Regions from separate parts of the Homo sapiens genome. Here regions 1, 2, 4, 5, 6 and 7 are each linked to region 3. Evidence: promoter capture Hi-C in 16 types of primary human blood cells and fetal thymus (Javierre and others, 2016). All regions are on one chromosome and are shown on one strand. Each heading gives the region's core, a stretch centred on a gene start or on the middle of the fragment in contact. The rest is flanking DNA. Distances are from core to core; before and after follow the strand shown.

Region 1 (3,535 bases), core at 607-3,106, 7.7 Mb before region 3:
TTTCTTCTTTTTAATTGAGACAGGGTCTCACTCCGTCGCCCAGGCTGGAGTGCTGTGGGGTGATCTCACTGCAACCTTTGCCTCCCAGATTCAAGCGATTCTTGTATCTCAGCCTCTGGAGTAGTTGGGGTTACAGGCCTGAGCCACCAGGCTGCACTAATTTTTGTATTTTTAGTAGAGATGGGGTTTCACCATGTTGGCTAGGCTGATCTAGAACTCTAGTACTGGGTGCTGGTACTGGGTGTTTGTGAAAATTGGTCCAGTGGCACACCAAGGCTGTGTGGTCACACATACATGCATGATACACTTCTATACAAAATCTTACATAACTATACGAACAGAAAAAAAATGGCTCTTTTTTGTTTCTTTTATTGTCTTTATTTCCTTTTGATTTTTTATTGTGTGTTTTTTTCTTTTTTTTCCCATTGGTTCATAGCCGATGGCTTTACATTTTATCATCACTTCTTGTATCAAATAGCTTTTTGGCTGGGAACGGTGGTTCATGCCTGTATTCCAGGCACTTTGGGAGGCCAAGGCAGGTGGATCACTTGAGGTCAGGAGTTCGAGAACAGCCTGGCCAATATGGTGAAACCCCGTCTCTACTGAAAATACAAAAATTCGCCAAATGTGGCAGCGCATGCCTGTAATCCCAGCTACTTGGGAGGCTGAGGCAGGAGAATTGCTTGAACCCGAGAGGCAGAGGTTGCAGTGAGCCACTGCACTCCAGCCTCGGTGACAGAGTGAGACTTCAACTCAAAAAAAAAAAAAAAAAAGTTTTTTCTCCATGGTAACTATCAAAAATTAAAGAGATGATCATTTAAAAAGATTTTGATCAGCCAGGCGTGGTGGCTCACACCTTTAATCCTAGCACTTTGGGAGGCCAAGGAGGGTGGATCACTTGAGGTCAGGGATTCGAGACCAGCCTGGCCAACATGATGAAACCCCGTCTCTACTAAAAATACAAAAATTAGCCAGGTGTGGTGGTGGGTGCCTGTAATCCCAGCTACTTGGGAGACTGAGGCAAGAGAATCACTTGAGCCCGGGAGGTGGAGGTTGCAGTGAGCCGAGATCAAACCACTGCACTCCAGCCTGGGTGACAGAGTGAGACTCCATCTCAAAAAAAAAAAAAAAAAAAAAAAATCTTGATCAAGAACTATGTGCAGGAGCAATGATCAGGAACTATTTTTAACACAAAACTTGATATTTAAAAGAGACTCCAAGAAGAATGTTATCAGGAAATTTTACCCAAAGTTGATATTTAAATCTACCCCAAGATTTGCTTTTATTTTTCTTCTCATAATTATATGTCATTTATTTTTTTGTTTTTCTTTTTCTTTTTTATAAGAGTACCATATAAAGGAAATGTAAATAATTATTATCCATGAAGCTCCTTTTAGAATTATCCAAGCTCACGCAAGTTGATCCCAGTGAGTTGTACAGATATCCTTATTTTTTATGTTTACCAAGGTGGGACGAAGCTTAGGAAGCATGGCTGATTTAATACAATTTGCTTGTAAGGCCAGAACATCTGAACCTTGTGTATCTGGCTATATTCTAGTGTCTCGGCATCCTAAGATCACATCAGTTCCTGCCCCTCTCAGCTTTGGATTGACTTAGGTGTGCCCAGAATGGCCACTGCTTTCCTGGAGAGGACAGTGGGTGCCTTGCCCTGCCATTGGCTGGCCTTCAGAGTGAACTTACCTCCAAAGACAAAAATAGGAAGCTGACCACCTTAAAAACCGCTCAGTGGCTCCCCATGCCTACAGGATAAAGTCCCATACTCTTTAGAACAGCATACTACCCTGTCCTTCCCTTCAGAATCCTCTAAGCAAGAGGCAGCATCAAAAAAGAAGTACAGTTGGAAGTCAGGGCTTGGAGAAGAATCAACAAATGAAAACTAAGGGGAGGGAATGCAGTCATTTTCCTGTGTTTGAACAACATGGTCACACAATCTTTGTTCCACCTTCACTCACACAAGGGTGGGGACTTGAAAAAAATGCCTTCCTCACTGAGTGTGTAATTTGGCTTATGTTATTTGGGCTTGAATCATGGCCAGGTCCTGGCAGCTATCCTGGGAGAGCTGGGTTTCGGGTCACTTCTGTCTTAAAGAATAGTAAATCACTAGTACCCTAGCAGGAGGTATCAGTAGGAGGCACGGGTTTAAACTGGGCTTGATGGTGGGCATGAATGCAATAGGTCAAGGCAGAGGCTTCAGGCAATGATCAGAAGCTTGTCATCATTGGGGCTGAGAGAGAAGGAGGAGGTGGGAAGGAGGAGGTTTGTTTGGGAAGAAGGTGGAGGGTGTCAGCTGAACTGGCACCAGTGACTGATAAATTTATCAGTCTCAGCACTAAATGATTACAGAAACATCACACCACATGGCACCGCATAAAGCACCATTATGACTATTTTAAATGCAAGCAAGAAGGCTTGCCTTGTGTATGGCCCTGTAGTGGGCTCTATAGGCAGACAAGGCCACGAAATCCCACCTTCTTCAGGCTGAGGCTCTGAAGTCAGCACATAAGGAAAAAGTCAAAAACAGTTAAAACTACCCTTGAAAACATTTTAGGAAGGTGACATGTTGAAGAAAATAGATATTTTCTCAGGAACTCCAAAACAGCCAGTTTTTCTTCTGGTACTGGAATTAATCACCATGAATTCAATGCAGTATCTATATAAGTAATCTGAAATTCTGCACAGGTTTGTCTCTTCTCTCCCATTTAGTAACTGATTCAATCATTTGTTTCTATCAGTGTGGACTGGTGGGTATTTATTTTATACTTTGGGTTATAATCCAATATTACTTTATTTTGTTGCTCAGATGGCTCCCGCTTTGGCCGTTGGGAGATCTTTCAGCTCCTCTGCTTCTCTGACGGACCCTCATCAATGTGTGTTTTTCTTGTTTAGCACTTGTCTATTTTCTGACACTGCACAATATTCTGAGCTAATCTTGTATATTTCCTGCCCAAGTCTCAGAATCTGCCATTTCTCCAAGAATCCAAGGTTCTTTTTATTGTAGAATAATATTGGAATCCAAGATATAGGTCCTGGCATGCTTATTGCTACTGGGGCTTTGTTTCTTTTGGGCCCTCTCAGCTGACAAAGCACATAAATATATGTGTGTATACTTATCTGTGTATGTTACATATCTGCAAATATTTCTATATGTAATCACCTGAATCTATATTGACTAAAATGTGAGATATTGCTGATGTCTGCAACTCTAGTCCATTACCAGATGGATTATTCTAACCTCCTTTTTTTATTGGTAAATTCCTACTCCATCAGTGAGAATTCAGGCTCCCATTTTCCACCATCCACTTGCGCAATTGTTTGATTCCAGTGTACATGTATAGCAGTTTCAGAATTGTTTACCTCATAATTATATGTCATTTTTTTTTTGTGGGAAACAACTTTACCTACTAGAGTACCATGCTTTTTTGCAGTTCCTATTGCTTTTGGCTTTATAGACCTCATTTACTCCAAAGTTACCAAATCAGCACCTTTGCCCTCCACCCCTTCAGTGATATCGTTT
Region 2 (3,980 bases), core at 52-2,551, 7.2 Mb before region 3:
AATAGGAATGAACAGTTTAATTTCAACCCAATCGCTCTTTATTCCCCATGAAGGCTTGTATTTTTCACATCTTTCTAACAACAGCTAGTACAGTACTAGTGACAAATGGGGACAGGGAAGATTGAAAATTGTCCAAGAAATAGATGTTAGGCACGGGATTCTGCAGCAACAGGAGCTAGGGAAGTGATGGGGGGCAGTCTAGGCAGCCTTTGGTCGCTCAGAATCCAAAATTCCAAAGAAGCTGGCTTTGGCTCAAGTTCAAAGGGTTGGCTTTAAGAGACGCTGACATAATGGTTAAAAATCAAGCCTAAAATTATTTTAATTTAAAGACTTGACTAATTATGAAGACTGAGTGTTGGCTGATATTGGGGAGAAAGTCAGGGAATGAGGAAGTACCAGTTGCTCCGTTTTGTGGGACACGGATGAGTTTTCTTAGGTTAGAACCTCTCACCTTCCCCAACGCATGGAATAAAACGCCACAGAGTGGATTGTAATTATTGCTCTGCCGGCTGTGATTTGGTTGAGTATCTTAAATAGACCGTGCCTCAGTTGTACCCTCCCTAACAACGAGGGCGATGACATCCGCTTCAATTCCTCGTGCACCTTCTGGCTCTTCCACCCCAATTCCTCCATTTACTGAAGGAAATTCCTTCTGGTGCTGATTGCAATCTCTTTGATGATAAGAACTTGCTCTCCCTGGGCTGACCCCCAGCAGAGCTTGTCCTCATACCCGGCGGCCCGAGGGGGCGCTGCTTCGGGGGAAGTTAGTTGGGTTTAAATAAAGCAGCTTCCTTGGCTGTTCGCGGTTGCGCAACCCTGTTCAGCCACCGCCATGTCAGCCCAGCGGTATCCAGAGGCGCAGGCCCGGGGTCGCCGGGACCCGAACCTTCTGCTTCCCGCCTAGGCAGAGCCGGATCCTAGTCAGAGACTGCTGGGAGCGCCGCGGGCCCAGAGTGGGCGGAGCTGGCCGGAGACCCCCCCCTCGGTGGGCGGGGCGTTCCTGCTCCGCCCCGCCCCGCGCACGGCCGAGCGCCGCGCCGCTCGGCCCCGCCTCTCCCCAGCCCTGCCCCCTTCACCTCCCCGCAGCTCCTCCCCTCTCCCATTGGCCGAGGTGGAGACCCTCCTCTCTGCCCAATGGCCGCCGCCGCGGCTCGGCCACCCGCGTCCTGACTGGCCAGCGACCGGCAGAGTGGCGGGGTGCGGACCAATGGGAAGAGGCGGCTCGATGAATGGCTGGCCCGGGTGGGGAAGGCAGGAGGCGGCGATCCCGGCGGAGGGGGCCGTTCGCCAGCTCTGAGGCAGAAAGTGCCACGACTCCACACGCGCGCACGCAGCCAGCGAGCGGCCGGAGCGGACGGCAGACGGGGCGGGCGGCGTCAGGGTCGCAGCGTCTACAGCTGCTCGGGGGCGGTTTCTTGGCGGAGGCTTGGCCGGCTCCTCTCTCCCGGCTCCGCGGCGGCTGCGAAGGCGGCGGCTCCTGCCCTCTCGCTTTCCCTCTCGCGTCTCTGGCTGCAGGTAAGAAACTTGGCCGGGCCCTGCAGCGGCCGCGCGCGGGCCGGGCCGTCGGGGGGCCGGGGCCGGCCGCGCTGCGCCGCGAGTGACACGTCTCCTCGGCGGCCCCTCCCCCGGCCCGCCCGCCGCCCGCCGCCTGCCGCCGCGGCCGTGCACCATCGGGGTCGGGGTCGGACTCGGGGCGGGGGTGCCGGGCAAGCGCCGTACCGGGGCGTAGGCAGGGCGCGCCCCGTGGTGTGGACCCCGCGGCCCTCGCCGTCCGGGGAGCTGCGGCGGCAGACGGGCGCGACGTGGCGACCGCTCCCTGCCTCCCTCCCTCCCGGCAGGGCCGTCGGGCCGGCCAGCGCGCTCCGAAGTTGGGCGAAGAAAGTTGGCGGCGGGGCGGGGCGGGGCGGCGCACAGCTGGCGGAGGAAGGGGTTAAGTTTCGGGAAGCCGCCGGATGACGTTGCCGGGCTGGAGTCCGGGCCGGAGGGGTGGGGTGCGGGCGGAAGGCGGCGGAGGCCGGCCGAGGGGAGGAGGGCGGGATTGAATGGGGGCCCACGGGCCGAGCGCGCCGGTCCCGGGCCGCGGCCCGCTGGCGCTTCGCGGGGCTGGGACGGCCCCCGACGGGGCGGGCCGGGGCCGCAGGGCTCGCGGCGCAGGGACCGGGTCTGTCCATGGCACGGACGCCGGGCGGCCGCGGTGGCAACTTCCCGGAGTGCGGGAGGCGGCTCCCTGCTCCCCCTGGCGGCGGGGCCGGGGCCACCGTTTCCCCGGCTGGGCTGCGCGGAGCCTGGCTCGAGGGCTCCCGGCGGGGGGACGAGGGCGCCCGGGGCCCGGCCCGCCCCGCCCGCGGCCACGATGAATGGGCCGGCGGTGCCAGCCCCGGGCGGAAGCGGACACCTCCGGGCCGGCCAAGCGCGCTGGCACCCGGCCTGGTGCCCGCCCCGGCCCGGCCGGCTCTCCCGCTGCGCCCTGATTAGGGGAGGCAGGCCGGGGTCTGCGCTTCCAGTGGGGCGCCCGCAGTGCTTCAGGGACCCCTCTCCGAATGATAAGTCGCGAGTTTTAGCTCTAGAGTGCCCCGGCTGGCGAGGGTGACCCCGACCAAGTTGTTTCGTTCGGGGTCTCCATTTCCTGGTCTGCAAATCGGGGCTCCTGTTAGCTTCGATTTGCGAGGAAAGCTGTGGAGACCCAGCACTTGTAGGAAGGAGCCACAAGTGTTGGCTGTTCAGTTGGGATGCTTTTGTTGGGGGGTGCTGGACACGGGAGGAAGGTGGGGCCTGGCTCCGGCACTGCGGCGGGCGCGGGGCTGCAGAAGTTGCACAGCCGGGGTTCTACACCCCGGACCACGTACTGGCCGCCTACTCGCAGGTCCCATAGCCCCTCTGAATCCTAGTTTCTTATCTGTGGCCTGAAGACAGCACCACCCACTCACAGGGTCGGGAACCACGCCGGGAAGTGCTGGGACCTTGTACAAACAGAAGGCAATTTGGCAATTACTCTGAGAGGTCAGAGGTTAGGAGAGACTGGGAAGCACCAAGGAAATGAAACTCTGAGGGACCTGAGGAGCCTCCCACGTCACTGCTCAGCTATTCACTCTGCGTGCTGGAACCTTCAGGGTAGGGGCCATCTGGATGGCATTTTCAGGAATTTGGAGAAATGGGCCTGGTAGGGCCTCATATCTCACATTAGATACCTCTTCAGAACTGGGTGTCCCCAGAGACCCAGGACGTCTGTCTGGCACTCCCAGGAAGAACAACTGCGAATGTTACCCCGCCCTGTGCAGCTGGGGGGCATTCTCCCACTGCCCCGCCTCCCTCCTCACACTCCTTGTTTGATTTAACTTCCTGTTAATCCGACACCTAGAGAAATCTGTGACCCTGCAGCATGTCACTTACTGTGTGATGTCTTGACTCGTTTACGAACTTGCCAAAGGTCACTCCCACTATCATATGCCAACCTCTTTCCCTTCCAGAAAGAAGCTTCCGGTTCTGAGGTCCTGGAGGTGCCATTTCCCTCTCTGTTGAAGCAAAGGCCGGGGCAGACCTCCTAGTAGGTGAAGTTTTCCTTTTACATGGAGCACCGCAAAGCCGGCTTGCAGGGATCTTGGGCCAGTGGAGGCCTGGAGGAGGCTAAGGTTGGGGGAGGGGAAACCAGAAAGGGATCTTGGGGTTTAGGAGAGGGTTTAGAGCTCTAGGCACTATAACAACTCTCACCTTTCATACTTAGGAATCTGCCTCTGAACATTTACAGAGAGATTAAGAAGTTACAGTGGTTCATGGTATATGAGTATTTTTTGGTGATGGAAGAGTTTTAAATAAATCTTAAATCAAGTCACATTTGAGCAATTATGCTCTTTAATGAAATGAGCCCTAACTCAACAGGCTGCAATAATTACATAGCAGCAAACTCAGTTTAAATGGTTGAATGCCAGTGATTGAATTGGAGTATTGATTTATTATGTAGCAGGGACACCTTTTAAAAGTGT
Region 3 (3,980 bases), core at 850-3,349:
TGTTCCTTGAACTTTAAGGTACACTTCTTGAGGAAGATTCTGATTCAGCAGCTCTGGGGTGAGAGTCATGAAGTGTAATTCTAACAAGCTCCCAGGGATGCTGATGCTGGTGGTAGGTGAAATGAACTTGGAGCAACAAGGCCCTAAGTAACTGGAATATTAGTTTTAACGCTAGCCAACTGGCTTACAAATATCGTTATGTCTAGGATCCAAGAAGTAAGTGTCAATACCATTAATTCCTACACCCGGCCAAAAAAATTAAAAACTAAAAATAAAAAAAAATAGTTCAGGGGAAGGAGAAAGCAAATACTTGTTTATACAGTCTAGCAGTGCTAAGAACCATAAAATACTGTTATTTGTCTCAACCTAGTAGATGTCAAGGTGATAAAATGTAGGCTCCATGAGTTAATGGATTTTTTTTAGCTAACTCCTGAATCCTTATGGCCTAGCACAAATTAGGTACTCAAGAAATGCAATGAATAAATGAATGAATGGGAAGTATATACAAACGCAATCTGTATTTACCTCACATCTCCAAAAATGTCTGGGAAGGGGGAGGTATTTGTACTGCTGGATGCAGGTAGCCATGATTTGATACAAATACCTGGCCCATCTACTGCATTCCCTTTGTGCAAAGACAGTTAACTTTCCTGAATAATATCTCCACCGTAATGCCCATGCTCATGGCATCCTGATGTTTAGCAACTTTTTGGCTTTTTGAAAACAATGAAGAAAGGTGGAAGTACAGGGAGAAGGATTCGGAAAAGTCTCAAAAAATCAAAGCCAAAAACCAGGAGGGAGGAGATGGGCAAACAGTTCAGTTCACTTGAAGGAACATCTGAGGTTGTCAGAGGTCCATGTGCTTACCTATGATGGTGGCGGGGTTTGGGCTCGGGCTTTATATGTTTTGTTACTGTCCAGGGTCACTGGCGGAGTAGTACCTGGCTGTGGAAACTCGGACTACACAGGTAGCCGGAACTGCAGCCAACCTTCAGAAGCTTAAGGGAAGCACTTTCGCGCTTACTTCCTCCTTCCCAGGGTCTCCGCGCGCGTTTGGGAACTCAGCCGCCGCCCAAACACAAAATGATCTGGGCAGCTTCGCTGCAGGATTGAGGCCACAGCCAGGATTTAAGATGGCAGCGAAACACTTCGATGGCCCGTGGAATCTGCCCAAAAGAAAAATGGCCTCTGTTCAGAATATCGCGGCTTTCAAAGTGGGCCCAAAACAAAAATGGCGCCGGACGCAGGCTATTTTTAAAGGCTGGGACCCCAATGACTCTCATTAGCAAATAACGTATCATGGTAACTCACGGTGCTAGGCAGTTGAACTGACCGAGAGAAAAAAAAACGCTTTTCTGTGGTGTGTTTTCTTAACATTGGAAAATGACTAGCTCAAGAATGGAACATATATTCGGTGCGAAAGATTGTGAGAAAGGAAAGGTAGCTTTCACAGTGCCGGATAAATTTTAATAAAAATAGCCATGTTTGAACATAACTTCCTATATGTTTTTTAATGTTAAAAGAGAATAAAAGTTTTGTCCTGGAACCCAGAAGCAGGATGGGGAAATGCCGGGTGAATTATCTAATCTGTGAAGAGTACGAGCTGCGAAACTCCGCACTTCCCTGTAAGCCCTCAGGAAGGACTGAGGGCGGATGCTTTAGTAGAAGGCAACTAGCTCTCACGGCGCATGTCCGTTTTCCAAACCCGATCCCGGGAGTTACGGGAGAGTAAAAATCCTGATTTTCCAGACAACCGCACAGAGAGGCGGGATACTGGCGCTGAGCGACAAATCCAAGCGCTTTGTAATTGGTCATGTCAGGACAGAGAGCAGAGCGCAGTGGACTATTTCTTTCTTTCATTCAATAAATCATTGTCAAGCGCTCACCAAAAGGCAGAAGCTGTGCCATTTTGATATGTTATTTAAATTTTATGCGTTCTTTTAAAATTTCAGTTTCAACAATTTGCTGGAATATACGCTGAATAAACTTCGCTCCCCGTTTTTTCCGGTGACGGCCGCTGTTGGCTGGAGCTTCACGGAAAACCCGGAGAAGCGGAGTGGGGGCGGCCCGGCGTCGACCGCAGAGCTGCGCGTGCTCCGTGCCCTCGCGCGACGCGAAGGTTGTCGGGATCCGCGGCAGCAGCGGCTGCTTGAGATCTGTTTCTGGGGCCTCTGGCGGTGGCGGCCTGGGGCGGCGCGACGGCTGGTGCGCAGGTGAGAGCGCTGGGACTCTAGGTGGAAAAGCCCGCTTTGTGTCCGGCCGAAGAGAGGGGAAGGGGCTTGTAGGCGCCTCCCTCTCCACCCCCAAAGGTCACCGGTGTCCTCACTGAAGGATATTTGAGGGCGGGGACAAGGAGGAGGCTGGCTCTCTGTAGGAGGCGAAAGACCGACCTCTGAAATAGCTGCCGATGGTAAATGTTGCGGTCGGCACGGATGCGGGCGGCGAGGAGGTCTTCCCGCCGGTGGGGAGAGCTGGAGGAGTGGCGCCTCACCACGCTCCCACCTGCGCTGCCGCCTTCTACGCCGAACCTGTGACTCCCCGTCCCCTCCCTCGCTGGGAGGGGCCCCGTGTGCCCCTGACTGTCTGGAGGGTGCACGGTGTACCCCAGGCTGTCGGGAGGTGGGGGCCGCCCTCCGACGGCGTTAGAGACGTTGTGCAGCGTGGCCCTGCCAGCTACGTGAAAGCAGCCGCGGGGCTTGCAGGGCTGTGGACCTTGTAGGGATGACCCTCTAAGGTCATGCTCGTCTTCCTCCCCGATAAGACCATACCCAAATCCTGTTGCCGTTTCAGAGACTCAATATGACGGTTTCATTCATTCATTAACATCTTCAGTTTATCCATAAACAGATATACACGTGTCTACAGCACTGCCGAGTTAGTAGATACGGCAGTGACCAAGAGGGACTTGCACGGTCCTGACTCCATGTTCTAGTGATGGGGGAGAAACAATACGCTCCCTATCCATGAGTTCCGCATGTGTGAATTCAACCAACTGCGGATAGAAAATATTTTGGGGCGGCGGGGTTTGGTGGCTCACCCCTGTAACCCCGCACTTTAGGAGCCCGAGGCGGGCGGATCACTTGAGTCAGGAGTTTGGGGCCAGCCAGGCCAACGTGGCGAAACCCGGTCTCTGCTAAAAGTACAAAAAAATGAGCCGGGCGCAGTGGCGCACGCCTGTAATCCCAGCTACTTGGGAGGTTGAGGCAGGAGAATCGCTTGAGCCCTGGAGGCGGAGGTTGCGGTGAGCGGAGATCACGCCACTGCACTCCAGGTTGGGCGACAGAGACTCTATTTAAGAAAATAAATAAATAAAAACATTCTGGGGGAAAAAAGATGGTTACATCTGTACTGAACACGTGCAGACCTTTTTTCTTGTCATTCCCTAAACACTGCAGTGTAACAACTACTTACATAGCATTTAACGTTGTATTAGGTATTATAAGTAGCCTAGAGATTATTTAAGGTACATGGAAGGAGGTGGCAAGTTGTGTACAAAACTACACGATTTTTTTTTTTTTTTTTTTTTTTTTTGACAAAGAGTCTCGCTCTGTCGCGCAGGCTGAAGCTGGATCTCTGCTCACTGTGCAACCTCCGCCTCCCGGGTTCAAGCAATTCTCCCTGCCTTAGCCTCCGGAGAAGTTTGGGATTACAGGCACCCGCCACTGCACCTGGCTAATTTTTGTATTTTTTAGTAGAGATGGTGTTTCGCCATGTTGGCCAGGCTGGTCTTGAACTCCTGACCTCAGGTGATCCACCCGCCTCGGCATCCCAAAGTGCTGGGATTACAGGCATGACCCACGGCGTCTGGCCTACTACACAATTTTTAAATCAGGGACCTGAGCATCTGGATTTGGGTATCCATCATGGGTCCTGGATGCAATCCCCCAAATACTGAGGGGTGATTGCACATTGATATTGAGCAAGATGTTTCTAGATTGTCCTAGGTTGGGTTTCCTGAGAATCAGACTCTGAGGAGATTT
Region 4 (3,761 bases), core at 1,262-3,761, 7.1 Mb before region 3:
TTTACAGAATGGCCAGGTTTGCAGGATGCAGCATGCGTGTAAAAACCTAAGATGCAATAAACATATGAAAAGAGTCAGCTCACTAGTAATCAAAGAAATGCAAAATAAAATAATGAGAAACCATTTCACAACCATCAGACTGGCAAAGGTTTCAAGTCTCTTATTAAGTGGTGAAAGGCAATGTAGAAACAAGCTGTTAATGATGAGATACAACCAGAACGAACCAGTAGTAGAGTAGAAAATATGTATGCTCCAATCCAGGGCTTCCGCTTCTAGATATACACCATGGAGAGATACACACTGGGGCTAGAGAAGTAATATATAGCAATATATGACATGGAAATTGCCTATTATAAAAACTTTAAATAGACCAAAAAAAGGCAAAAAATTAGGAAATGGCTGAATGTCTATCAACAGGGGAATGGATAAACTTGCACAATCATACAAAAGAACACAATTCAGCAGTTGAAGAACCAAAGCTACAAATAAATCCAAAAGCTGCCCTCCCCTGGGAAAAAAAAAACCACCCCCACAAAGTTTAATTTTTTCTCACAGAGCTGCAAAAGGATACATGAAGCACAGTATTTACGTAAGTTTTAAAAGCACATCAAGGCAATACATATGAATGATTAAGTAGCTAAAAGTATGGAACTATCAATGAATATCAATTTCAGGTGACTACTGTGAACTTTACCTGAGCTCTGTGTTCTCAGAAAGCAGTGATGGTTAATCCACCCCACCGTTTTGTGTTCTGGGAAACAGGTAACTGCAAAGAACTGGCCTGTTGCATATTTTCAAATAAGGCAATCAGGAATGCTCTCCTAATTGCAATAGCCTGAATAAAATCATCTCCTTAACCAGCCAGGATATTATGTCTTTGACACAGGAATGGTTATAACTCTAGGGAGGGAAGGGAGTGGGATGAGGAAGATGATGCATATTTAGCTGTAATGATAACATAAAAACCTGAAATATGGCAATAAGATAGCCCTGTTTTTCCTGTACAAAAGGATCTGTTATTCTGTGTACTTTTCTGCTTAAAATGTTTCAAAATTATTATTTTAAAACTTGGAGTTGGAAAAGGTGATTTGTCTCAAGTCAATTAATCCTTTACAATCTGTTTTCTCATATGTTAAATAGGCATGTGAATACATGCCCAACCTATTTCACTGGGTTGTAGTGTTTTTGCTAATCACCAAGTATTAGAATACTTGAATACTGCGCCAATTAGTTCAGTCTGTGAGACCACAGTCCAGATTAGGATAAGGTTAAGGGTTAGATTATCGTGCAAACCTTTTAACTCTACTTCAGGGGCAAGACTACACTCTTACTTTCCAAGAAGCATAAAAGATACTCTGGTTACAAGAGGAGCTAGGCAAGTCTAGGTGTGATGTCTCAATCCATATCCAGTAGAACTACTGAGCAAATAACCTTAGTAACTTGATGATGGGCTACTAAACAATCTCTGTATAAGGAGGCTGGCACACCCAGTACACACACACACACGTTTTGTTTGGGGTCTGTAATTGTGGTTCACGTGGAGGCAGACGTTGTTTGTTTTTTGTTGGAGGAGACATCTGAAAACATCTAATCTCATCCTGAAGCGCCCAGCTGGTTTCAAACTGCTTTATTTCAGGTGCTTCTAAAAGACTTGGTGAGTACAAGGAAGTGATTCTGCTAATTTAGAACAAACCCATCGGTAGTTAAAATTTAATCTTAAAAGAAACTTGGAACCAAGCATCTAACCAAAAGAGCTAAAAGCAAAGTGCTAGACTCTGGGATAATACCCACAATATTCTCTAATCACTGAACTAAACAAAGATGCTCCTGCGCTCATAAGGCTAAAAACAAAAATAACCTTTAAAAATGGGGGGTCTATAATCTGAACTCTAAGAGTAACTTGTAAGGTCTTCTTGATCTCCCTAAAGCCAACAATTTTGAAGCGTATTTGGAAATCGCTCATTTCTAATTTTTATTTCTCCCACTCCTCACAAGAACCAGGAAATATAACAGACCCTTCCTTCCTTGAATTTAGTTAAGCTTTAACTAAAACTAAGCATTTAACTAAAGGTAAAATGTTTGGTCTCTTATTTTCAAACAGAAAAATAAAGTCTGTATTAGCCACTCAATAAAAAAGCATAATGTCAAATCAGAAGTCTCTAGAGCAGACCCTAGTCAGCTTCAAAGCACTTTCACAGAGTGAATGGTCTTAAGCGTACCATAACTCAAAGCCCCTAGATTAAGTCTTTCAGTATAAAGTAGCATATACATTTAAAATGTTATTAAATTTCTAATAATTAGATATTAAAAAGACTCAAGATGCTGATACTTTGTAGCTTACAGCATTAAACCAAAGAAGAACCAAAAACTGAACAGTATCAAATCCCTATTACATACATATCTACAGTCATCAAGAAACTACCGGTTTATCTTTTCTTTCACTAAGGGGCCGCCTGCATGTTCACGGAAGTTGTAGTAACTTAAGAAAACCAAAACTGTTATACAGTGAAAACAGTTTGTATGCAGATAAGCTGGTACCAACTGCTTCTAGACAGATGCAATTACAGTGTAATATTTCTAGCAAAGTCTGGTAAGGCTACGCCTGCAAATCACTGACCAAAAATGGTAACAGTGTGTGCACACTAACGAAAACGACAAAATGTTCCAACTGATAGTTCAGTTGAGAATACGTTTTTAAATAGCTAATTAGAGTGACAGTGTAAAGGGGGAAAATATGTAAATTAAGCAAAATGTCCATCATATAGAATATACTAATGAGCACCTGTTTACTTTCTGGTGACTCCAGTATTTTAATGGTTTTTAAAGCTCTTAAATTTGGTTGTATCAGCATCCCAGCATCATGCCCACACCTTGCGCACCAAGTTCTGGCAGAGTCCAACTGTCTACAGGTCAGAAAAAAAATTCTAACCATACACGGACAGATCGGGCAGGGAAGGGTTAAAACAGACACTGCCAAGCTTGACAAGCACGACGAGAGTGCTGCTGGAAGCCGATTGCCAGATAAAAAGAAAAAAACAAAGGAGCTGCAAGGCCACCCCGTTCTAAATCATGCCAGGATCCTGCTCGTTAGCGATCATTCCGTGCTCTAGGACTGTTCCATAAAGGCTTTATCTTCCTTATTGAGATGGACAGACCTCAAGGGCTGGAACGCGCACAAGTCACCAAGCGCCTCAGCGCCAGCTCTGGGGAAACCCACGCCAACAAGGACGGTGGCCGGATTCCGACGCCCCCCGCCCCCCACTCCCCGGCCTCGGTGTGCAGACCCCCGGATGGATTTCACAGAGCGGGTGGGGGCGCTCGACCCCAGCCAGTTGTTGCAAGGCCGGGTCTGGAGACACCCGCAGAGGCCACGCTCAGGGCGGCGGCCTCGCCCCAGCTGGGAGCTGCGCAACAGCCGCGGATCCACCCCGGGGCGCGGGGGCCCAGCCAGGACGGCGGGAGACGGAGGCCCAGAGACCCCCCCTCACCCGCAGCCCGGACACTGCAGCCGGACCGGGTCCCTCCCCGGGCTGAGGCACGGCTCACCCCCTTAGCCCCGACTCCGCGGCGCCCCAGAGACACACTGCTCCCGGCCGCCTCGGCCCACGCCTCGGCCTCCCTCCTACTCACCATCTTCGCCGCGGCGGTCGCAGGGACGCGGGGGAGGGAGCCGGCGGGCAGCGAGTATGCAGACCGTCCTCCTCACGGCTGCGGGACCGAGAGACCCAGCGCTGAGCTGACGCGGCGGCGCGAGCTTACCC
Region 5 (3,841 bases), core at 83-2,582, 8.1 Mb before region 3:
AGAAACAATTATAGCTCACTTACTTGGCTTATCAACAAACTATGTTTGCATAGTTAAAACAGGGTAAATATTAATTATTGATTCATCAAAAATATGCAATAGTTTTATTGGTTAGTCAGTTGGAAAGGAGGATCAAATCCTCATTAATAAATCCCATACATGATTGATAAATTAAAGATATTAGTAAAAGCTTATTATTTAGAAATGTGGACGTAAATACCAAAAAAAAAAAAAAAAAAACCTAATAGTTGAAAGCAAGGAGGGATAAAGCAGGAACTGTTTTTTTGGTTACAAACTTTTGATCATTATTTAATTTTTTAATGCATTTGTTGCTTTGTTAAAAATATAAAAATTAATTTCAAAAAAGTCATGCTGGCTAATACTGTAGAAACCAATTGGAGGGGACTCCAAGTAGAGACAAAGAGAGTAGGAAGTTGAGGCTACATAAGCAAAGAGGATGGAGGATTTAAGTAAGGTAGTGGTAAAGGGAATGGGAAGGTGGGAATGGAGTGGAATATTTGCAGTAGAAATGATGGGACCTGGTGGCTGGAGGAAGGAGAAGGAACAAGAAGAGGGAGAAGTCTAGAATGATAGGTTCCTAATTTGAGGAACTGAGTACTCTCTGAGAAAGAGAACGGAAGGAAGAGCAGCCTTGTGGGTGATGACAGCAATTTAAGTTATGGACAAAGCTGAGGTGGCTAGATATCCAAGTGGCAATGCTAGATGGACATGGATCTTGAGTTCAGGAGAACGCTGGGCTGAAATAAGAGAATAAATTAGATCTAGCAAAGAAACCCAGCCAAGTCCCAAGGAAAGCTAACCCAAATGTCCCCTTAAGCCCCACAAGTGTATGAATCCTGGGTAGACTGCCAGGTGAGAGTAGAAGTTCAGCTGTTTATCCTCGGTGTGCTCTATTAACAACTCTCACCTGCCAAGTGCCACAGCCCCTCAGCCCTTGCCCTTTGTTTCTCTGGAAGCCCTCATGTTAGGAAATGTCTTCCAAAACGTTCATGCTACTGTTCCCATTTCTCCCATACTTCTGATTCACTTGCTTCTCACCTTCCCCATCTACTGTCGTACACTGCTTCTCATTCATCAGTTTGATGCCAACCAAGATGGTCCACTGGAATACACAGCCAATTGGCACGAATCCATGCTTGACCTGATATCCCTTGGGAAGCTGAGTCTCTGCTACCAGCATCTGGAGCTGTTACTTGTGATTTTGGAATCCTTGTCACTAAGGCTGACTGCACCACAGCACTGCTCAGGCCACCCATAATGGTGGAACTGACACCAATGAGAAATCAAGATGAGGGTCTGAAGGTCATAGTACTGTAGAGGAACCCTGAAATGCCCAATTCCTGTCCTACCACACATCACATCTCTACTCACAGGGTCCCAACAGCTATGAACAGGAAAACACTACCTAAATGAGAAACAAATGCCACTTTATTCATAACTGAGGCAGTACTCTATAATCCATAGGCAGGGATCTGATAAAAACTGAACTGAGTCTCTCGCAAGGGTGGAAGCCAAAGACCAGGTTGAGGAGAGGCTGGTCAGACTTTGGCACTGCACATGGGAGGTAGTATCTTCTTGGGATATTTGTATTACTCCAGAAAGGTGAGAAAAGCAGCTGGTGTGCAATAAGAAAAGCAAGGCCAAGAGCCCAGGCAGGCTCAACAAGTGGCTGCCTGCATTCTGGTCCCAGTGTCAGGCCTTCTGAAGACAACATACTGCTTTTTTTTTTTTTTTTTGAGATGGAATCTCGCTGTCAACAGGCTGGAGTGCAGTGGTGCGATCTCAGCTCACTGCAACCTCCGCCTCCCAGATTCAAGCGATTCTCCTGCCTCAGCCTCCCAAGTAGCTGGGACTACAGGTGCGCGGTGCCATGCCCAGCTAATTTTTGTATTTTTAATAGAGACAGGGTTTCACCATGCTGGCCAAGACGGTCTCGATCTCTTGACCTTGTGATCCGCCCCTCGGCCTCCCAAAGTGCAGGGAGTACAGGCGTGAGCCACCGCTCCTGGCCCATACTCTCTGCTTTAATTCTGAGCTACCAATACACGTTTTTTATAAACACCCACTTTTGATTTAAGCTCACTTGTGTTTGTTGCCTGCAACCAAGAGACCACTGAGGAAACTGGTTCAGCATCAATCATGTCGTCCTGACTGCATTCCCAGCATTAGAATAGCACTGGCCACAGTTGGTGGGTAATCCACACTTGCTGAAGGAATGAGGGGTATGTGCACTGGTCCTAAAGAATAGGTCCAGTCTGTTTAATTCAGAAGTTACAATCAAATTTATATCATACTTACCCAGTACGCAGTAGTACCCAAAGGGCTACTGTGAATCCCAAAGTGAATATGGAGATTTGCTGAAACTAACCTTAAAGCGACCACTAAAGCTGTGCCTAATAGCAACATGAAAGAAATATAAATCTACATTAACTAGTTTCAGGAAATCAAGCTTATGGAAGCTCTATGTGAAATTTCACAGCAATCTTTCACTCATGCAAATACAGAGGAACACCTCTTGAAAATGCAGATAGTAGGCCGGGGACCGTGGCTCACACCTGTAATCCCAGCACTTTGGGAGGCTGAGGCAGGCGGATCACAAGGTCAGGAGATGGAGACCATCCTGGCTAACACGGTGAAACCCTGTCTCCACTGAAAACACAAAAAATTAGCCAGACATGGTGGCAGGCGCCTTTAGTCCCAGCTACTCGGGAGGCTGAGGCAGGAGAATGGCATGAACCTGGGAGGCGGAGCTTGCAGTGAGCCGAGATCGAGCCACTGCACTCCAGCCTGGGTGACACAGCAAGACTCCGTCTCAAAAAAAAAAAAAAAAAAGAAAACGCAGATAGTTTCCTTCAAGAAAATATTTATTGCATATTATTAGTGATTATGTTTTACAGCAAATTTAAATACATACACTTTTCACAAACCCAAAATGGGAATCAGGGCAACTATCAAATTTAAATGTTGAACCAAGTCCTGGTTTTCAGAATTCAGCAGCCAGTCATGGTTCTGTACCAGGGCCACCAGTCCATGATTTCCAATAGTTGAGGATCTTTTCTGTATTTGGAACAAAATCTTCTTTATATGTGACAACTGTTTCCACATAAAATCCTTTTGGGCGTTCAGAGAGTTCACTGGGTACTTCACTTGCTGAGCCATCCTTTTGGTCTACTTTATCACCATTAAGAGAAAAAAAAAAAAAGAACACCTGAATTATTAACTTAGAAAGCAGTCATTAAAGTCTTAGAAATTAACTAAGGTAAGAATTACATCCACTCTCTCCAACCCCAATAATGAAGGAAGGAATGAAAAGGAAGGGAAAAGAAAAGCTGGGTGCGGTGGCTCACGCCTGTAATCCCAATCTCACTTTGTGGGGGCCGAGGCAGGTGGACCACCTGAGGTCAGGTGTTTGAGACCAGCCTCGCCAACGTAGTGAAACCCCATCTCTACTAAAAATACAAAAATTAGCTGGGCGTGGTGGCATGGGCCTATAACCCCAGCTACTGGGGAGGATGAGGCAGGAGGACTGCTTGAGTTGGGAGATGGAGGTTACAGTGAGCCAAGATAGCGCCAGTGCACTCCAGCCTGGGCGACAGAGCTAGACTCTGTCTCAAAAAAAAAATAAAACAATTCGCCGGGCAGCAGTGGCCTGCGCCTGCAATCCCAGCTACTCGGGAGGCTGAGGCAGGAGAATCACTTGAGCCCGGAGACGCAGGTTGTGGTGAGCCGAGATCATGCCACTGCACTCAAGCCTGGGCGACAGGGTGAGACCTTGTCAAAAAGAAAAAAAAAAAGAACGAAAGAAAGAAAACATAAATAT
Region 6 (3,607 bases), core at 214-2,713, 7.9 Mb before region 3:
ATAAAGACAGGTTATTCATATTTCCCCAGGGAAGGTCAGGTTTTTTTGTTTGTTTGTTTGTTTTGGTATAGTTGAGAATGGGTAGATAGGGGTGTGTGTGTGTGCACGCACACACACCGCTCTTGAGAATTTGCTTTGTCTTTGGTTTTCAGCAGTTTGACATTCATGTGTCTAAATCATTTGTTGTTGTTTGGTATTAATCCAGTTTGAGGTTTATTGAGATTCTCTAACCTGTCAGCTATTGTTTTTCATTAAATTTAGGAACTTTAGCCATCATTATCTTTAAATAATTCTCAGTTTCTTCTCATTTTGGATAATTCTTTCTCAATTTCTTCTCCTTTTGAGTCTCCACTTACACGTATGTTAGACCATTTGATATTGTTCCCGAAGCTCTATCCAATTTTCCTCAGTATGTTTTTCTGTTTGCCAGATTGGTTTCTATTGACCTGTCTTCAGGTTCACTGAAACTTCCTTTTGCCATCTTCAATCTTTTAAGCCCATCTAGCAAATTTTAAATTTTTATTTGTTACATTTTTAGTTCTAGAATTCCCACTTGTTTCTTTTTAAAATAATTTCCACTGAGATTTCCACCCCCATTTGTTTCTTTGTGATGTGTGTATTTTTCTTTAATATGTTTATGCTAGTTTCTGTAAAGTCTGTGTGCTGAAACCTCTGGACCATCTCAGGATCTATTTCTGTGACTGCCTTTTTTTCTTAACAGTGGGTCACACTTCCTGTTTTTTTGCATGTCTAGTAATTTTAAAGTTTTTTTATGCAGGACATTTTTTGTGGCATGATTCTAAATTCTCTTACGTTAGTCTGAAAGTGCTTTTTTTACCTGTAGGCAGTTTAATTACTGGATGAATGTTTTGAACTTGTGCAGGCTTCATTTTATTCTTTGTTAGGATAGATCTTTGAAAGGTCAAAGTGTTTACCAGGCTCCTCTAACTTGCAGGACTCAAACTCCAAGTTCTTTAACCCATGCAGATATTTTTACGTCCTTAATTTAGTTCCAGTTAGAGCATATCTTGAGAAGACCTTACTATAAGATGTGGTCCTTATTTTATGGCATGGCCTCTCTGGTTTCTCAGCTGAATGATTGAGGTGTTAATGAGGTTTGTTTATTCTGATTGGGCTGGAATGCCTACACTCGCCAGCCCTGCTAAACTTCTAGTATTTCCATTCTTCTCTCAAGCAGCTGTTTTCTGGTAATCATTGCATATTTACCCTGCACAAGCAAAGCTCAACTTCAGCTGAGGTGGGCTTTCCCCTCTTTGCACAGCTGCCTCCTTTCTGAGACCTACCCTACCAGTGTCATCTGCTTCACCATCCCTAAAGTCTTTTTTGCCTCCTCATCTCAGTGAGACTAGTGTGTCTTTCCCCCACCATCCCATATCATGGTCAGGAAATTGTCCCCAAGCAGTTAGCCAGGGCAAACGTAGAACTCATTTTCTGAATTTCCCATCTCTCAGGGATCACAATTTTGTGCAACCTATAGTCCAGGGCCTGAAAATAGTTGCTTTATACTTTCCCCAGTGTTATGGTTATTTATAATGGGAATGATCATCTGATACCAGTTATTCCATCATGGTCAGCAGAACACGTTAATTTGATAACTACTGTAAGTCACAAAATTTATATTTATTTCTCTGGCTATCCTAGATCTAGGACAAATCCTCACATAGGCAGCTAATTTGTTATAATCAATAAGACCATAGTTACATAAGGAACTTTAACTGGTTGTTGGGTTTGTAGCCCTTTCTCTGAAATGCTGGCGAGGTTCCTTTTATTAGAATATTGACAAAAAAATCAGCTGCAAGTTTAATAAGGTTCATCCATTTAAAAAGTCAATTTATGTTTCTGCTTAACTCACAGAAATATACCTCAAAGGTTAATGATATTCAGTAACCAGTTTTGAAGTAAAATAAAATTAGTTTAAAGGGTTAAAAAATTTTAAGATATGTGATTGGTAATACTATTCTTGGAAATACAACATGAGTATTTCAACTACAAGGTCTTTTACCTTTTCTGTAAAGACATTGTTCTGATGATTATGGGACATAACTAATTATACTCTTTATATTCAATTAGTCGGTGTCCTTGTGCTGGTTGAATTAAGTACACTTTTAAATTGTAACTGCAGGCATATTTTGTTACATCAGCCCCCTGCCATCTGAGAAATACACTTAAAGAATGTACCAAATTTACTCTGGTTATATCCTTCCTGGCTTGAGGTATTCATGCCAAGGTATGATTACCACACAATGTCAGTGTTGGAAAGAAGAAGGAGTCTGCCCCTGAGAAATGGTTTTATGTCAATATTTGATTTAGTGTATCTACACTCCCTAGTGAGATCTCAGATGACTTAATTCTTTCTCATCAATGTGCCTGTTGAAGTGCAGACTTCTCAGGAGTAGTTGGAGATACTGATTTTTATTGTTTTGTGTGCGAGTTTCTCTCTTGGTTCTGAGTGCCTGAATTTAGTAAGATACACTTGAAGCCTGTCCCTTACAATGGCAATTACTGCATGTGTAATCTGCGTCTACTATACAAACTCAGCAGAAGAGCTTTACATCATTTGCTGCAAAGATGTTATACAAAGGCATTGCCTTGGGATATTTATGGACCAAACAAGGTGGCATTTGTGTGCTGGCTGTCACTTCTGATTGTATTTGAATACCTGCTTCTGAATAATAAAGTTCAGAAAACAGGCCGATTTGTTGTCCCAGAAAGGATACATTCAGCTGTTGGATTTTCTTTATTGCTTGGTTTGGCCAAGTAGGAAGTTGGTTTAAGGAGTCGCTGCAAATTTTAGTTATACTATTTTTGTCTTTGTTCCTAATTGTTGCTGCTGTCAAGTATGTTGTTAACAGGGTATTAATACTTTGGCAGAGCTACCAACTCATCAGTTCTAACCACAGATGATTCTGTATCAAAAAGAAATTGAAGTGACTCTGATAGAAACAAATCATGTGAGAATGATACAAAAAACAACATGGAGATGTAGAACTGGAAACCTGATAACTTGGCTAATATTTGTGTGGTCATCCAATCATTTTAGGCAAAGAAAAGAGCAAAAGAAGAGACAGTAAAAGGAAAAGATTCCATTTACAGCAGCACCTGCTTAGAAAATAATAAAGCAATGCCATCTCCCCTCAGCTATATCTGTTAAGAACTCTAAACTTTGAGTGACCCTAGTAGGGCAAAACTACTTGGCTGTAACTCAATAATTTTTCCTGACCTCTGAAAAATAGAACCTTTTAAACCAATTATGTAACAGTACTATGGATTCATTCTGACCTATCCAGAGTGCTAGTTTTTAATCCATAATGAACACAGCCACAATGAAACTCTACCTCCTAACATTTAAAAACACTGAAATTTCCCCCTCAGTGAACAACTTGTGAAACTTTTTCAGTGGTGTGTGTAGTAACTCAACCTTTTCACTTCTTTTCTTAAGCCTTGGTAGTTTTTGTTTTACATTAGAAACAAAACAAGAATACTATGTATGAAAACCAAAATTCTGATCATAGCAAATCCATTGTATTTAATGACTTTATCATTGAAATAAAAAATTTAAGAGGTAAGGAAACAAAGTCTTCAACCC
Region 7 (3,759 bases), core at 791-3,290, 7.5 Mb before region 3:
TTTCAAAGCGGCTGGATTGTTCCAACAAGGGTATCATTGCATTAATTATTAAAATAGAGCTTTCTATACAGGAGGGTGTTGTTTAGAGTGGTTTTTTTTTTGAAAGTTCTTTATTACTAAAACAAAGTGGAAACTTGAGACCACGATTCTTTGTAAAACATTATAAAGGTACTTTTCTCCATAAAGGGTAGATAATGGATTGGGATTTTGGTAGCATTTTATTTTTTCTTTCTTTCTGGTACATTCTTTTAGCTGTCTTGATTCGGAGTCAGCTAGGTAAAAGGACTCAATTGCTTCACCCCACTCTCTGGTAGTACAGTATATTGCAGCTGGTTTTTAAAATGACTTCCACCACCCTGATCCTCCAGCAAAATTGGAGAATGGTTATGAAGGCCATTTCCTGCCTGTTTTAGAGGCTACAGAAACTGTCCGTATCTGTAGCGAAGAGAGTTACATGACATTGTTTTCCTTTTTACATTACAGGAATAAAGAGACAATAAAAATAAATAATTACCCTGACGCGTGGCTTTATTTTTGTTTTCTGATCTCTGCTGATGCTGATAACCTGCTGTGGTCTGGCCTAGATGGTGTTATGGTTAACTGAAAGGGAGTTTGGGGCAAGTATGAAATAATGGGAAACTAAGTCTTGGGCAACTTTTTGCCATAATACAATTTCGGTAGTCAACTGAAATGTTTTGTGTGTTACCTGAAATGTGTGTTACTTAAATTGTTTAAATGCCCTCCTGATAATTTACTTTGGTTTGGAATTCTCCCTAAGGATGGAGTTAATTAAGACTCACTAAGGTAGGGGGACATACTTGATTCTTCAGGATTTTGAATTCTAGCCCAATACTCATTTTGGCCAATTCAGCAAAACTGAAAGGGAATACTGTGTCAGTCGTGTCTGGTAGCCAGACACTGGCATTTTGTTACATTCTTTAGCCGAGGGTGTTGGGGTTTGCCTTCTTCCTCAGAAAATAGTTCAGGGGAAGAGATGCATGGTTAATTTGGTTCCTAACTGGTCCTCTATTTACTGGTTTTTGATTTTTTTTTTTTTTTTGAGACGGAGTCTCGCTCTGTCGTCCAGGCTGGAGCGCAATGGCTCGATCTCAGCTCACTGCAACTTCCGCTTTCTGGGTTCAAGCGATTCTCCTGCCTCAGCCTCTCAAGTAGCTGGGATTACAGTCGCTCACCGCCATGCCCGGCTAATTTTTGTATTTTTGTGGAGACCGGGTTTCACCATGTTGGCCAGGCTGGTATTTGAACTCGACCTTCGCAGCCTAGTGCTATTTTTAACTAGGGGGTTCTCCTTCCTTGACAGTAACAACTTGGCCTTAACTTACTGCTTGGTTACAGGGACTTTGGTGAATGATATCTGTCCTCTTACCTACTCAGGAGTGTTTGTAGACTAAGTACTGCTGCTCTGGTTTCGTGTTTAACTGGTGTGGAAGCTGCCTCTAGGGGTATTTTTGTTCTCCATTAGCTAGAATGGAGTGCAGTTGGTTAGTATAGGAACAATCCTGAACTTTGACCAATACCATAGCAAGTCCAAACTTACAAACTTTGTGGACTGAAGCTTTATGCTACCCTTGCAACTATTTTCTAAGTTGAGGAAGTATGACGTATCAAGCTTCCCACGCCTTAGTTCTAGTTCAGTAACTTGTACTCGGTGTCTTAAGATCCCCATTTGTGAATACTCTAAAAGGTCATTATCTGTTCACATTATTTTGGCCATAGGTAGAAATGGCCAAGAGGCTTTTTTTTTTTTTTTTTTGAGACAGGGTCTGGCTCTGTCACCCAGGCGGGAGTGCAGTGTCACGATCACAACTCACTGCAGCCTCGACCTGGGGAGCTCAGGTGATCACCCCCACCTCAGCCTCCTGAGTAGCTGGGGCTACAGGCACACACCAGCATGCCCACCTAATTTTTGTATTTTTTGGTAGAGATGGGGTTTCACCATCCAGTTCAACATGCCGGGATTACAGGCATGAGCCATTGTGCTTGGCCAAGGCTGTTAAGTTTTCTAGATTTGTTTCTGAGCTGTAAACTCCTCATTCGGTGAGACCTAGTGGTCATCTAAACTAGAGGTTGAGTTTAAAATTCAGTTTCTCAACCTGGGGAGCACTGTTGACATTTTAGCCTGATCACTTTTGTTGAGGAGTGCCCTCTGGGTTGTAGGATGTGAAGCAACTGTTTTTGGCCTCTGCTAGGACGCGGCCTCCTCCCCTCCCATGGTGATAAGAAGTCAAAATTGCCTGTTTGAGAATCACTGGTTTAAACGGACTTCCTTCTAAAATGGTGTGATATGGGTGGGGTCAGGTTGTGTTACAGAAGCTAGTCTTTGTGTGCTTGTTGCGAATTTTTCAGGTTTTCTATTAATCTTGCCTAAGGAAATAACATGCCATGTAAAAATTAGCATTGTTGGATATCTTTGTGAGAATAAAGCTTTTCCACTAATACTGAGGAACCTTAACAAAAGGTGGTGAAAGATGGTTTTCTTCAGCAGGTTCTGGGTACTTGAGGGTTGCAAAGGGAGGGCTTCGTGTTTGTGTTTGTGAGTGTAGGCTTTGGACACTGGAAACTTACCTGAGTTTCTTGTGCTGCAGAGGGGAACTTGGTTTAAAATTCTGCTGTTTCAGCATTTTTCTGTCTTTATTATCAGGGTCTTGATGCTCGAGCAAATTAGGTGAGAACAGATCTATAGGTTAGTACCCTGAATGTCTTAAATAGCCCGTGGTCACAACAGTGTGTAGTGAAGTTAAATAGTATTTAAGGAAACAGTCTAACTTTTAATGATCCCAATAGTGAGAAACGGCTATTAAAGTGTAAATTAAGTTTCTCTGCATGATCTAACTTTCCAAAAAGTGGCTTCTTCACCCTTAATACCTGTTTTCTGATTGGCCATTGAGGTACTCTGACAAGATCTCCTAAAAGAGATCTTCACACCTTCACATGCTGCCTAAAGGCAAACCATAGTACCCCAGGAGGAGTAAGTTGCAGTTTGAGGGGCAGCCAACACTTAAGTTTAAAAATGGGGGTCCTTGGCTTGACTCTTCTTTTTACATTTTGGCATAACTTTTTTAGGCATTCCTATATGGTCTGGAGAGAAAACTAATTTTCTGCCTGAAAAGCTCAGTTTCTGAAGGGCACACTCCTAAGCATTCTAGTCATGGTAAATGGTGAGGAATACAAATCCAGATGGCTCCCTTGTCAGGGTTTTCACTTTTTCTTTCAAGAGCACCGCAGAGCTAGGACATTGTGCTGTTAGATACTTGGTAGCTGGTGGGTGATAAAATGTTGGACTTCTTCCCTCACCCTTCCTATATCTTTCATGAATTTTGTTTTGAATTCTTGTATTTATTTTGTTTAGAATTCTTTTTCTCAAGACAGTCTTGCTGTGTTGCCCAAGCTGGTATCGAACTCCTGAGCTCAGGCCATCTTCCTGCACTCAGCCTCCTGAATGGGCCCCTGGTCTGAGTATTGGAATATTTACATCTGAATGATTTGGGAAATTTGCTGTACCTCAAACTCAAGAGTGAAAGAAATGTCCAACCAAAAAGCGGGCAGCCTGCTCTCCATGCTGCCATTTGTATTTCAAACTGAGATGACCAAGGTTAAGTTCAAACAGGCAGCTCTACCACTGTTGCTGAATCGTCTTTCTTGGTAAAGGTAAATTGTCAAACCTATTTCCTGTGCATCTTGGTTTGATCATGAAGTGAGACCATGAAGGAAGGCAGTAAATGTCCTTCAACACCCTCA

What was found. Contacts are between HindIII fragments. The CHiCAGO score rates a contact against its expected background, and 5 or more counts as called.
Region 1: a contact is called between a fragment that was not itself captured here and the fragment with the promoter of MKKS in region 3, in 1 of 17 cell types (non-activated CD4 T cells). The highest score is 7.0, in non-activated CD4 T cells.
Region 2: a contact is called between the fragment with the promoter of RRBP1 here and the fragment with the promoter of MKKS in region 3, in 1 of 17 cell types (non-activated CD4 T cells). The highest score is 7.5, in non-activated CD4 T cells.
Region 4: a contact is called between a fragment that was not itself captured here and the fragment with the promoter of MKKS in region 3, in 1 of 17 cell types (activated CD4 T cells). The highest score is 6.5, in activated CD4 T cells.
Region 5: a contact is called between a fragment that was not itself captured here and the fragment with the promoter of MKKS in region 3, in 3 of 17 cell types (total CD4 T cells, activated CD4 T cells and naive B cells). The highest score is 11.7, in total CD4 T cells.
Region 6: a contact is called between a fragment that was not itself captured here and the fragment with the promoter of MKKS in region 3, in 1 of 17 cell types (non-activated CD4 T cells). The highest score is 7.0, in non-activated CD4 T cells.
Region 7: a contact is called between a fragment that was not itself captured here and the fragment with the promoter of MKKS in region 3, in 5 of 17 cell types (activated CD4 T cells, total CD4 T cells, total CD8 T cells and 2 more). The highest score is 12.0, in activated CD4 T cells.

What each region holds. Positions count from the first base shown.
Region 1 is chr20:18,132,640-18,136,174 of GRCh38, reverse strand. No RefSeq gene overlaps it. Among named protein-coding and RNA genes, the nearest start is that of KAT14, 3.5 kb to the left of the region's middle. The HindIII fragment of the contact is 751 bases long and covers 1,481-2,231 here.
Region 2 is chr20:17,679,563-17,683,542 of GRCh38, reverse strand. RRBP1 (ribosome binding protein 1) reads left to right here and starts at 1,301. Exons shown (of 25, transcript NM_001365613.2): 1 at 1,301-1,515; 2 at 3,468-3,544. RefSeq lists enhancers at 631-690, 1,944-2,616, 2,808-3,980 and silencers at 971-1,390, 1,621-1,950, 1,981-2,030, 2,061-2,370. The HindIII fragment of the contact is 11,518 bases long and covers 1-3,476 here.
Region 3 is chr20:10,432,341-10,436,320 of GRCh38, reverse strand. MKKS (MKKS centrosomal shuttling protein) reads left to right here and starts at 2,099. Exons shown (of 6, transcript NM_170784.3): 1 at 2,099-2,213. SLX4IP (SLX4 interacting protein) reads right to left here and starts at 1,016. Exons shown (of 8, transcript NM_001009608.3): 1 at 868-1,016. It overlaps LOC128706665, which reads left to right and starts at 2,099. Exons shown (of 3, transcript NM_001394148.2): 1 at 2,099-2,213. It overlaps LOC128706666, which reads left to right and starts at 2,099. Exons shown (of 3, transcript NM_001394149.2): 1 at 2,099-2,213. RefSeq lists enhancers at 863-912, 1,073-1,302, 2,193-2,252. The HindIII fragment of the contact is 4,604 bases long and covers 1,001-3,980 here.
Region 4 is chr20:17,570,081-17,573,841 of GRCh38, reverse strand. DSTN (destrin, actin depolymerizing factor) reads right to left here. Exons shown (of 4, transcript NM_006870.4): 1 at 3,631-3,761. The coding sequence starts at 3,633. Among named protein-coding and RNA genes, the nearest start is that of DSTN, 1.9 kb to the right of the region's middle. RefSeq lists silencers at 3,327-3,616, 3,637-3,761. The HindIII fragment of the contact is 938 bases long and covers 2,043-2,980 here.
Region 5 is chr20:18,568,587-18,572,427 of GRCh38, reverse strand. It overlaps SMIM26 (small integral membrane protein 26), which reads right to left. Exons shown (of 2, transcript NM_001348957.2): 2 at 2,868-3,192. The coding sequence ends at 3,023. Among named protein-coding and RNA genes, the nearest start is that of SMIM26, 3.1 kb to the right of the region's middle. The HindIII fragment of the contact is 2,280 bases long and covers 193-2,472 here.
Region 6 is chr20:18,282,109-18,285,715 of GRCh38, reverse strand. No RefSeq gene overlaps it. Among named protein-coding and RNA genes, the nearest start is that of ZNF133, 4.6 kb to the left of the region's middle. The HindIII fragment of the contact is 4,298 bases long and covers 1-3,607 here.
Region 7 is chr20:17,963,686-17,967,444 of GRCh38, reverse strand. All of the region lies in intron 1 of SNX5 (sorting nexin 5), which reads left to right. Among named protein-coding and RNA genes, the nearest start is that of SNORD17, 2.6 kb to the right of the region's middle. RefSeq lists an enhancer at 1,156-1,235. The HindIII fragment of the contact is 815 bases long and covers 1,633-2,447 here.